Linked DNA regions of Homo sapiens: region 2 is linked to region 1. The links are contacts of gene promoters, found by promoter capture Hi-C in blood cells and fetal thymus (Javierre and others, 2016). All regions are on one chromosome and are shown on one strand. Each heading gives the region's core, a stretch centred on a gene start or on the middle of the fragment in contact. The rest is flanking DNA. Distances are from core to core; before and after follow the strand shown.

Evidence for each region. The method cuts DNA at HindIII sites, captures the fragments that hold promoters and counts their contacts. A CHiCAGO score of 5 or more calls a contact.
Region 2: the fragment with the promoter of SBK1 here is called in contact with the fragment with the promoter of ZNF267 in region 1 in 1 of 17 cell types (fetal thymus); the score reaches 5.8 in fetal thymus.

The regions. Positions count from the first base shown.
Region 1 is chr16:31,871,280-31,877,407 of GRCh38, reverse strand. ZNF267 (zinc finger protein 267) reads right to left here and starts at 3,601. Exons shown (of 4, transcript NM_003414.6): 1 at 3,439-3,601. The coding sequence starts at 3,441. RefSeq lists enhancers at 1-16, 3,486-3,780 and silencers at 3,320-3,399, 3,550-3,599. The HindIII fragment of the contact is 12,710 bases long and covers 1-6,128 here.
Region 2 is chr16:28,288,040-28,294,323 of GRCh38, reverse strand. It overlaps SBK1 (SH3 domain binding kinase 1), which reads right to left and starts at 1,799. Exons shown (of 4, transcript NM_001024401.3): 1 at 1,024-1,799. It overlaps LOC124903670 (a long non-coding RNA gene), which reads left to right and starts at 2,259. Exons shown (of 2, transcript XR_007065033.1): 1 at 2,259-2,557. RefSeq lists silencers at 1,699-1,928, 2,136-2,307. The HindIII fragment of the contact is 5,383 bases long and covers 1-2,778 here.

The DNA.
Region 1 (6,128 bases), core at 2,352-4,851:
TGTGAAAGAAAGTCTTTGTCTGCCTAACCTTTGAGATCCACAAAGATCTTACAGCTGTTGCTTTCCCCCTATTGCAATACTCCTTTAGAATTAAGGAACTTCTTACCTAAACCTGAATTTGTTTTATTTGACAAAATCAAATAAAATGTGGGGAAGGAACTGGAAACTTAATATTTTACTGCAAGCCTCAGTCTGGGGGAACACAGTGGTAGATTTGAGACTCTGCGTGCCACACATTAGGAAAACACAGGGGGAAAACCAGTTGTCGGGTGGGGGGAGTGTTAAAATGATTAATGAGTAGGCGACTATATGGAAGTGGTTGTAGTGCCCTGGGTTTCTGGGAAGAAAAACCAAAATCAGGACAATCACAATTTCTACCCTCAGAAAGAGCCTCCCAACCCTCCTTCCATCCCAACCCCAAATGCCTCTTTCTGTGGATTTTCAGCTTTCAGCTTTCCAGGGCTCTGTAGCTTCTCAGTATAAAGGGCTCCTTCCATGGATGGGGTGAGCAGGCTGGGAAACCTGCAGGGGAAACTCCCCTGGAAGAACTAACTGGGCTTCAGTGACCTCTTCTTGCAGGCTCAAGACCAGGTTAGTTTGCACTCTCTGAGCTCAGGCTTCTGCTTCCCAGTCAGGGTTATTCAATTAGTATTCAATGAGAATGCCCAGTGTTGGAAGAAAGCAAAACTACTCAAACAGTGTTTATAGAATAAAGGAAAGTGAAACGCCTTTATAATTTATACCTCAACAGAAAACACTAAAGTATCTATCCCTTTCAGACAATAAATAGGCCACTTACTTATTTCCATGATAACAGATCATTTAGTAAATAATCATATATAAACAATTCTAGCCAGTGCTACGTTCAGCATTAAAGCCATACATCCAAGGCCAGGCATGGTGGCTCATGCCTGTTATCCCAGCACTTTGGGAGGCCAAGGCGGGAGGATCACTTGAGCCCAGGAGTTTGAGACCACTCTGGGGGCAACACAGTGAGACCCACATCTTTACAAAAAGAAAAAACAAAATAGCCAGCCATGGCGCAGCACCCCTGTAAGTCCCATCTACTTGGAAGGCTGAGGTGGGAGGATCACTTGAGCCCAGGAGGTTGAGTGAGCTGTGATCACACCACTGCACTTCAGTCTGGGTGACAGAGGAGAGATCCTGTCTCCAAAAACAAAAAATAAAAAATAAACTCAACATCCAGACAAGAGGATAAAGAACAAAGATATCCACTGTCATAACTTCTTCACCCTACAAAAAAAAGAAACTGATGTTTTGATGAAACTATGTAATTCACCAATTTACCACACGTTGTTGTGAAAATGTATTCACTTTCTACAGCCAATAATGAAAGAAAGATTTTCTCTGTTTCTTTTCCCTGGCAGCATTTCCAAAAGGTGAGCCCTGAGATTCTGTTTTAAATTACTCCCAAAAAAAGAACAAACCTGAGAAACTTACTACACTCATTCTGCTGAAAAAAAAGATAGTAAGAATTTTTAACAATGAAGTATGACTTGATATTTTAATTTTCTGAAATCCACCTTTCATGGCCTTGGAAATGTTTTTTATCTTTCAAGCTCTACTGATGAAATTTACACTAACTGAAAAACTGAAGTAGAAATAAATGAACAATCTAAGGCAGCAAACTCAGGGAGTGGTAATGCTGTTGGAATACAGACATATCTGGCTCAAGTGTCAAGTCAGGTCACGGTATCATTTGAGACATTCTCCTACCCCAATACTGCTCATTAAAATGCTCAGGGACCATCCTCCCAGATCCTGCACTGTGCCCCATGGACACCGCAGCCGAGTTTGCACCACCTCACTGGGGTGGGGTTTTTGTTTTTTGGTCCTTTGGGAGTTTTTCTCCCTTCACAAATCTGAATGAATCTAGGGGGCAGGAATCATTTGTGACTGTTTCCCCTCAATACCAGCAAACGATTGGCTGACCAGCAATGTGTCTCCAAGGGATGAAAACTAGCTTTGAAGAAATAAAATCCTTATGTCCCAAGGGGTTATCTTTTTAGGTTAAGGGTGTCCCAGGAGATTTCTCTCAGCCCCAGGGCATCCAGCTGCTCCCCTGAGGGACTACATTTCCATACCTTGGGCGGTCCTCTAACAGGAGGTGACCTGGGGCTGACAGTCACTAAACACTCCAGGAGACATGGCCACTGTGGGCATCTTGAGTCATCCCAGACAGTTCTGAAATTCAGGAACAGGAAAAGACTGGATAGAGGGTGGCTATACAGGGCCCTGTAAAGTTTCCAAAGCAAAACCTCAAGTCAAAAGACATTCTTTCCGATAACGTGTCTGTGCCTGGGGAAGATGAATGAAAAAGAGGCACAGTTTTTTTTGCAGTGGAGTGTCAGGGATTTTTTATTCTCTGCTTTCCTCTCACGTGAAATGTATGCCAAAAAAACACAAATCTTTAAAAAAGTGTCATCCACTGCTCTGTGAAATCATGATTAATGAGTAAAATACTGTCTGAAATGTACAATAAATGACCAATAGTTAAGAATGTGAACTGGAGAGGGGAAGTTGGCCTTTGGAAATGTCGGGAAGGAACTGGAAATTTAATATTTTATTGCAAGCCCAGTTAGACTGGGGGAACACAGTGGTGGACTTGAGACTCTGCGTGCTACACGTTAGGAAAGCGCAGGGGGAAAACCAGTTCCCCTGGGCAGTGTTAAGATGATTAATGAGCAGGCGATTATACGGAAGTGGTTATAGTGCCCCAGGTTTCTAGGGAGAAAAACCAAAACCAAACTCAAATGCTTTTCTTGTAAATTACAACTTTAGGGGAAAACAAAATTCAGACTTAACGAACCACAAAGCTCCAATTCACCTCCACCTGCATAGTCTAAATAAGGCAACTACAAACTGTAACCCATCGGTTAATTTGGTCTGCTTCCTCATGCACCTTATAAAAACCTTTCCTTCAAGCCCCTCTGGGGATCTCCGAACCACAAACCAGGACTGCAGGCTTCCCATGTCACAAATCGCTATTTGCTCAAATTCTTCAACGTTTTAACAGTGACTCCCTTTAATTCTTAAGAGGAGTAGTGACTGAGGACCCCACAGGGCACGGTTTCTTCCCACACACCGAACCTGGGTCTCCCCTGAGACGCTCCCGTCCTCACCGCACAATCTGGGGGAGACGCGGGGCTGCGACGCGGAGCTGCCCAGAGAGGGCTCCGGCCAGGGACGAGGTCGCTCTGCGGGGTCGGGATGGGACAGGACACGCGGGGTCCCGGCTGCCGGCCTGGCCGCCATCTTGCAGCGGAGGGGACCGAGGGCCGAGCTGCACCAGTTGGGACTCGGGGCCCAGACCCCGAGGCTGACTGCGGGGAGGCCCGGGTGCCCCTACAGCGGGTTCCCGCCGCTTCCGACCACCGCCCTCCCTCCCTCTGGGGACCCCCGACCCCGCACACTCACCATTTCCCAGCTTCCGGGATGCCCTGGCGTCTTAGCTACGAATCTCCCAGTGCCTGCAAGTCGCAGAGCAACAGAGGTTCTGTTTATTCTCAGAACGCGAAGCCGCCTGGGCCTCCCAGAACGAAAGACTCGGAGCTGTGGCGAGGAGACCCGAGCTCTAACTGGAGCCGACGAAGGCCCCCGCCAAATCCCGGAAGCCGCCCCTGCTCTCCGGCTTCACTCCTGATTGGACGGTTTCCACTCCAGCGCCCCTGATTGGATAAAGCTCCATGCCCCGCCCCCTCATTATTAGTGCCTTTTTTTTTTTTTTTTTTGAAAGGGAGACTGGCTCATTGAGGTGGGGCCGCCTGCTGCGGGTATTACAGCTAATTAAGGGGTGAGCTGCGACTTGAAATACACTTGCTCTTTCCCTTACCTGGTTCTGCTTGTATAAGACATCTTATTAGCTAATTAAGTTTAAGAAGAAGTATATTTAGACACCTTTAAAGCAAGAAAGACCCTCATCCCGTCCCTTAGCACCTCTCTTACCGCACTGTACCCCACTGCTAACGCCACCGTGGGAGGGGGCCCCTCAGCTGGGAACAGAAGGCCGTACACTTCATTCACGTGTTTTCAATTAGGCCCTCGCATGATACATAGACTGAACCAGTGCAAAAGCATCTTATAGGGGCATGCAGGCTGGGGTCCCAGGAGGATGTTGCGGGCCGTGGTGGAACGTGGAAGAGGGGCTGGCCTATTCTTCTAATCTACAACTCTGCCCGCATCTCCTGGAGTCTGCATCACTGGTAACGGGGCCGCTGACTGTCCGTCTGTCTCTCCTTCTCAATCCCTTCAAGCTCAGGGAAGAAGGGTCCTTGGCAGCGACAGGGCTGGGAGCTCAGTTCCTCTGGGCCGTGCTGGCTCAGGCTCTGTGGCCACGGACTCCTCAGCCCTACCTCTGGTTTTTGCTTTTGTTTTGAGACAGGGTCTCACTCTATTGCCCAGGCTGGTGCAGTGGTGCAGTCATGGCTCACTGCAGCCTCCGGGGCTCAAGCAATCTTCCCACCTCAGCCTCCTGAGTAGCTGGGACTACAGGCACATGCCACCATGCCCGGCTGATTTTTGTATTTTTTGTAGAGATGAGGTTTCACCATGTTGCCCAGGCTGGTCTCCATCTCCTGAGCTCAAGCGATCCTCCCACCTTAGCCTCCCAAGTAACTGGGGCTACAGGTTAATAGTCAGTTCGCCAACTCCTGAGCTCAAGTATTCTGTCTGCTTTGACCTGCCAGAATGCCCTATTCCTGTTTTTCTGGAGTCTTGGAGCTAGTGGCGCTGCAGCACCTCGTAGTCTTCCGGCTGAGTAGATTCTCCTAGTCTTCTGGCTGAGTAGAAGGTGGGAGAGGAGGTGGGTGTCAAACTGGGCCAGGGCCCTCGGCCGCCATCTAGCTTGGTTAAACTCCCACTTGGGACAGATCAGGCTCTGTGCCTTATTCAGTGAGACGTGTGGAACAAATGCTTCCCTCCCCAAAGCAGAAACATCCCTGATTGCTGACAGTCAGGATTCCATGCACTTGTCTTGGCCTGGGGCATGGCTGCCTCTCACCCTCTCACCCAGTTCTAGTCGCTGCACTCTGTGGCCTCCCTGCCACCAGATTAGGTGTAGACAACGGGTGTGGGACAGGGCTGCTGACACCACTGGCTGACCAAACCCCTTTCCCACACTGAAGGGAGAAAAGACAGGAGGTTAGGGGCTCCCAAAGGCAGCACTGCTTGTGACAGCACCACGGGAGTCCTTAGGGCCTACTAAGGGGCTGGGCTGGAACTCAGGATCAACTCTGCCTGACTCCAAAGCCCATGCACCTCCATGGACCTCACAACTCAAGCAGCTTCCCTAGGCCTTTGAAATCCTGGAGATTGACTCTTTTGCGATAGAAGAAAGATTCCTTTTGATTCTCATCCTTCTAGTACTCTTCACAATTGGAAATAATCCCCACCAGAGAATGCTTCTGAAATGTCTTGGAAACATGTAGAATAATTTGGGAAAATGGCTGAAGGCTGAGTTTAAGAAATCAAGGCCTAACATTCTATTTTTCATTTCTTATAGGAGAGATTTGAAAGCACTTATAATGGACTCAATGTGTCTGCAAATTATTTTTGTCCCCTTTCAGTATTTGTAAGCTGTTGATGATTTTCAATACAGATTAACTCAAACTACTGTGACTGAAACAATCTTTTACTCTGAAAGCAAGAGATACAAAGGTATATCTGCTGAGAAGACATTTTTTTCTGCCACAATTTAGCCAAACAGCTGAGTACGTCTTAAAGTCAGCCTTTGATTTCTAACAAGTCAAGCTATTTGCCAAGACCACAGTCAGACCATATGACTTAACTACTTCATTGTCCCAGAATGTTGACCAGACAGATCGAAGCTCTGGGGGTGGAGTGGTGAGAGGACCCACGCTAGCAGGTGGGCAGCCATGGGTCCATATGTGAGAATCACTCATTAGGTGGGGTGTTTTGAGGTCCTGATATTTATGACACAATTAATGTGTATATTACTAAAAGTAAATTATAGAACATTACAAATAATAAATCTATATATAAACTAAACATGTCAGCAATTACAACTACTGTTATTTATCATTATTCTAAGTGTGATCATCATTATTACCACAATTAGAAATAGTAGTTGTGGATGCTGCTGCTGCTGC
Region 2 (6,284 bases), core at 550-3,049, 3.6 Mb after region 1:
CTCCCAGCAGCCCAGAGTGTGTTCTTTCCATGCAGTCCAGCCCCTTCTCAGGATCTGATTCAGGATTTCAGGGTACAATGTCCCCTAGGGTCTCTCGGCTTCCTCATATGCGGTAGAGCCTGGGGTTCAGGACCTCACTGAGGGCCAGGCTGGGGTACGGCCGTGTGTACCACCTGGAAAGCCACAGTGAGACCCTGGAATTGGCCCTTGGTTGTCTGGGACACATTGAGCCAACCCTTGGTTTAACCTGGGTGTTCTCCAGGTTAGGAGGGGAAGGGAAAGACTTGGGTTGCTGTCCCTGGGACAAATGGGAACAGAACGGTGCCCTGACCTGAAATAGCTTCTTCATCTAGGCTACCTCTCCTCCCCAGAAACTAGCGCCTCACTTTGGGGGGTACTTACTCCCTCCCTGTCCCACAGGGAGTACAAAGTATGGTTTAGGTAAAGACCGCCAGTGTGGCCTGGGTCGGGCAGCAGAGTCACAGGGAAGATGCGATTCCCATTCATCCGCTCAAACACACCCCTTCCCCGCACTCTCACAGACAAAGACACACACCCGAAGCCCCAGCCATCACCCAGGGCCACATAAGGCAGCCCCCCTCACCTGTGGGCACCCCCAAATTTTCCCCTCTCGGGGGGACTTCACTAGAAGCTCAGCTTGGCCGTGGGGGAGGGGTATTCACACTCCAAGGACCTGGGGGCCAACCTCCAGGCTCGCAGCTTTTGGGGGGGGACTCTCCGCCCTCTTCCCCCCTCTCCATGGCACAACGGGCTCCACCACCACTCCTCCGTGGGGCCGGGGAGCTGCGCCCGAGCCTCAAGGCTAGGGAGTGGGGTGGGGGAAGGGAGAGGAGGAGGGGGCGGCTCCTCCAAGCGAGACACAAAGAGACGTCCTTCAGCCTCGGCTCCATGGCGACGCTGGGGAAGGGGGAGCGCGCAACCCGATACTTCCTTCCCCACCTGCAGGGCTATGGGGACCTCGGTGGCCACTCACCTGCCGCCCCTCACCTGGGCCCGGCTTACCTGGGCTGGGGCCGCGGGGACGCCGCGGCAGGGGGCCTGGGCGCCGTCGCGGTCTTCGTCTGCCCGGCCCCGGGGGCTCAGGGCGCCACGACCATGGACCGGGGTGCAAGCGGTGCCGCCAGGGGCTCAGTCGCCCAAGTCCTGGAGCTTTAGGGGGGGGATCCCCGAGGCTTCTTGCTGGTGAGAGTGTCTCTTGCTGTCCCCGGCTGCCTAGATTTGGGATTTCTATGTACCGGAGTTGGGGGGAATTGGGATCCCCTGATCTAGGGGCGTTCTGAGCTGGGTCTTCTTGTCTTGAGGTGTGGAGTTGTAATGACCGGATCTTGGGAGGGGGTTCTCGCAATCCCGGCCTGGGGGCACTGCGTTCTAGGTCTTGGGGCGGGGGCCCAGACTGAGGAGGGGGAGTCCTTGCGGTGCCGTAGGGGGCTTGCTGTCTTCTAAATACCGAGGAAGTCTCCGCTTTCCCCGCAGGGGAGTCGCTCGGTGTCGGATCCGGGAGGGCCCCCCCTCTTCCCCGAGGCTCGCCGGATCCTGGATGTGGAAGGGGGCTCCCCGCACTCCTCGGCTGCGGGGGCTTTAGTGGGTCCCGGCCACCGGCGGGCGCTGGAAGCCCCTCAGCCGCTGGGGGGCTCGGTCGCCGCCGCTACGAGCAGCCCGGCCCTGCGCTCCCGGCCCCCGGCCTGGCCCGGGCTCCGGCTGCGGCTCCAGCTCGCGCTCCGCCTGGCGCTCGGGCCCCGGCCCCGGCGCCCGCCCGGGCTGCGCTCCATCGCGGCATCGCGGCTCCGCCCTCCAGCCAGCGCGCACCTGCCCGCCCGGCCCGCGGCTCCGCCCTCCGGCTCGCGCGCCGCCGCCCGCCCCTTTGTCCGTCCCGCTCGGCGCGCGCCCTCGCGCAAGCGCGCTCACCCGCCGCGCGCCCGCCCTCCCGCCGCGCGCCGCGGAGCGCAGATTCTCCCCGCGCGGCGCCCCCACCCCCTTCCGGCCGCGCTGGGTCCTAGCGCCGGTGGCTCCCGAGCTGGCTCCCACCCCCCACCCCCCACCCACCCCACTCCTTTTCTAGGTCAGAGCCCACGAGGGGGCGAGAACGAGGTTACAGAGGACTCGGGGGAGTCTGAGAGGGTCACCTGGTCCAGCTTTCTGGGCCCTGCGGGACGAGACTGCCCCAGACTGTCCCGGTCTGTGCTAGTGGGGCGGAGCCTGTGTGTGTTTGAAGGAGGGAAAACAAATCCAGGTTCTGCATTCGGATATGCATTTCATTCATCCATGCGTCCGCCTGCCTGCCTGCGCTTCCATCCATCCATCCATCCGTCCGTCCATCCATCCATCCATCCATCCATGCATCCTATTTCCAGCGAGACGTCAGAGAACTCACAGTCTTCTTGGGGAAGAGGTCATAAACTTGGGCCTGGGTGGTTGCCCTATCCAACTGAGGTCGCCTTTGCGATCCCTGCTGCAAATAGGCAGTGACTAGTCCAGGAGTGCAGCTGGGAGGAACTGCTCGCCGGATAGAAGGGAAGAAAGGAGATTCTAGGCAGAGGTACAGCAGGTGTAAGGGATGTTGCATTGTCTGTTTGATAACCGGAAATTGGTGGCCTGGATGAAGTGGGTGGATGGGGACAGAGATGAGATAGGGACAGCTCGTCCTTCCAGGCCCTGTTCTTTCTCCTCCCTGCAGCTCACTCTTTCCCTAGTGAGAAAGCCCCAATAGGACGCCTTCCCTATTTCTTTCTTTTTTTTTTGTTTTTTTAGCTTCAAGCTTCAAAAGCATTTCTTTTTCATTCTTTTTTTTAATTATTATTATACTTTAAGTTTTAGGGTACATATGCACAACATGCAGGTTTGTTACGTATGTATACGTGTGCCATGTTGGTGTGCTGCACCCATTAACTCGTCATTTAGCATTAGGTATATCTCCTAATGCTATCCCTCCCCCTTCCCCCCACCCCACAACAGTCCCTGGTGTGTGATGTTCCCCTTCCTGTGTCCATGTGTTCTCTTTGTTCAATTCCCACCTATGAGTGAGAACATGCGGTGTTTGGTTTTTTGTCCTTGCGATAGTTTGCTGAGAATGATGGTTTCCAGCTTCATCCATGTCCCTACAAAGGACATGAACTCATCATTTTTTATGACTGCCCCTATTTCTTCTAAGTTTTTGATCAGGCTGTTTTCTCAACCCAGCGTAATCCTCCCAGCCACTCCCGACTGTTTCCAGAGCTTTAGGAGCCAGGGATTGCAAACGCAAGTACCTACAGGCGCAGACATGAGCGACTGGGGTCGCATGTAAAGTGATAGAGAGGGTGGAGAAGAGGGGAACTGGAGACATCGTGGGCTGTGCGTGGCTGGATGATATTCAAAGAGAAGCAGGACATCCAGAAATCTTCCAACTTTTAAATGTTTGAAACGAATTCCCAAAATTCGGAAATATTGAATGGGCCAAATGAAACACACTTTGCAGACAAATCTGGCCCCCAGACCATAGGTTGGCAACCTCTACCATTGAGAATATTGTTTCAGTTCTTAACTTGTCGGCCTCCTGCCTCTGTCTAGATTGTCTTTTTTCTCTTTTCTTTTCTTCTCTTCTCTTCTCCTTTCTTTCTTTTTCTCTCCCCGCCCTTCCTTCCTTCCTTTCTTCTTTCCTTCCTTCCTGCCTTCCTACCTTCCTTCTTTTTTTGACAGAGTCTTGCTCTGCTGCCCAGCCTGGAGTGCAATGGCACGATCTTGCCTCACCGCAACCTCTGCCTGCGGGGTTCAAGTGATTCTCCTGGCTCAGCCTCCTGAGTAGCTGGGATTACAGGCGTGTGCCACTATGCCTGGCTAATTTTTGTATTTTTACTACAGACGGGGTTTCATCATGTTGGCCAGGCTGGTCTCAAACTCCTGACTTCAAGTGATCCACCCACCTCAGCCTCCCAAAGTGCTAGGATTACAGGCATGAGCCACCGTGCCTGGTGATTGTCTTTTTTCTAGAATCCAAATCCTTTGGGATCATCAGGTCTGTAAAATACAAATGGGGTTGGGTTGCTGTCTTACATAAAACTGCCAAGGACTTCCTGTGTACCATCAGGGTAAAGTCTAACCTTACTTATCCTGGCATTCAAAGCCCTTAACATTTAGAGCCTGCTCTCCATTCCCCTACAAAGGACCTCTCTTCTCCATTCGGCCTTGACCTCAGCCACGCTATTCTAGGACATCTGCCTCTGTCTTTTTTTTTTTTTTTTGAGACAGGGTCTCACTTTGTCACCAAGGTTGGAGTGTAGTGGTGCAATCATGGCTCACTACAGCCTCAACCTCCTGGGATCAAGTGATCCTCCCACCTCAGCCCCCTAAGTAACTAGGACTACAGGTGTGCACCACCAGGCTCAGCTAATTTTTGTATTTTTTGTAGAGATGGGGTTTTGCCATGTTGCCCAGGCTGGTCTTGAACTCCTGAGCTTAAGCCTTCCATCCACCTCAGCCTCCCAAAGCGCTGGGATTGCGAGTGTGAGCCACCACGCCCAGCCCTGACATCTGTTTGTTTTTGTTTTTTTTTTTTTTCTGAGATGGAGTTTCACTCTTATTGCCCAGGCTGGAGTGCAATGGCACAATCTTGGCTCACTGCAGCCTCCGTCTCCCGGGTTCAAGTGATTCTCCTGCCTCAGCCTCCCAAGTAGTTGGGATTACAGGTGTGTACCACCACGCCTGGCTAATTTTTGTATTTTTAGTAGAGATGAGGTTTTGCCATTGTTGGCCAGGCTGGTCTTGAACTCCCGACCTCAGGTGAGCTGTCCACCTCAGCCTCCCAAAGTGCTGGGATTACAGGTGTGAACCACCTCACCCGGCCTGACATCTGCTTTTGATACCTCCACGCCTTTGTCTACTCGGTTTCCTCTGTCTGGAACACCTTTCCCTTCCTCCTTGTTTTCCAAACAAGTTCTCTTCTAAGAACTCTGTGTCTTCCCTTCCTCTCCCACACTCCTTGTCCTGCCAATGTAGAGGAGTTTCGGATTTCATTCTAACTTTGTTCTAATCCTCTCCAAGGCCTTAGTGCCGTAAATAAACTAATAGAGGGATTTGAGTTATTGGGTGTGCAGAAGAGGGGGCTGGAGAGGGAGAAAGCAGGAAGAAAACATTCTGTGTCTAAAAGCTGAGTCTCAGAATGTTAGCACTTAGAGAGCACTTTCCTCTTTTTGCAGAGGAAGAAACAGACCTAGAGAGGGGAGGAGTCAAATCAAGCTTTGCAGTGCCCCTAGCCACAGTTAATCAAGGGTTGCCCAGTTCAAGGCCACCTTCTGCGGAAACCTTCCCTGATTCCTTATCTGGGGCTTTGATTACCCATAGTGCAGTTAGTAAAGGTTTGCTGGCATGCATTGTGGGTAATTAAGTCCCCCTCCCGACTCCCTCTCAGTTCTACAGGGAGGGAAGTCCTGGTCCCCAAAGAGGGTATGCTCTAGCCAGGGGACACAGCATGGGTCCCATTAAATTTAAGCTGTGGCCGGGGCTGGGAAACTTTGGACTCCATGTGTTCTGGGACCAGCAGGTGAGAAGAGAGGGCACCAGCATGGCTGCACTAACTGACCCTGGTCAGCAGAGAGGGCAGGGCTGCTTTTACAGTGGGAGGACAAGGAGGAATATATGGGAATCCAGTGATCCATGGGTTACAATAACCAATAATTTAGGTCCCTCAGGACTGAAGGGTCGGGTCACATCACCAGGTAACCCACCAAGGCCTGCCAAGGCGACGGTGGAGAGTGTGGATAATTTAGAATGGATAGTGAAGAAAGAAAGAACAAGCGCTGGTTATGGCCTCTCGATAACTGCAGCAAGGAGGCGGGGGCTCTAGCATGTTCCACTAATCTCCCTCTTCAAAGTTTTCCCATAGAAAGAGAGGCTCACAGGATCCATGGTAGAGCTGAGTAGTGCAAGGGATGGAAGGTGACGGCCCTGAAAATGTGCCATTCAGACCTCTGACTTCAGGAAAAGTCATTGACCAAGGGCAGCAGCTGTGAAACCCATCTGTGGTTCACACAGGAAGGCTCTGGTTTGCTTCCCACGAGCTGATCCCAGCCAAAGAACTAAGGCGCGTCTGTTCGTGGAGACACAGGACTCCTCGAACAGGCAGCTTTGGATCAAGGACTCCCCCTTGACTTTGTAAAAACTTTCTCACTGCACTGCAGTTGAAGACTCTTCCTCTCCCATCATCCTTCCTTCTGTCTCTCTTTTCCACGTGTTAGATCTAGTACAGTCTGATGATCTTCCCAGCTTCCTCTTCCTCCCTCCTTCTTGGT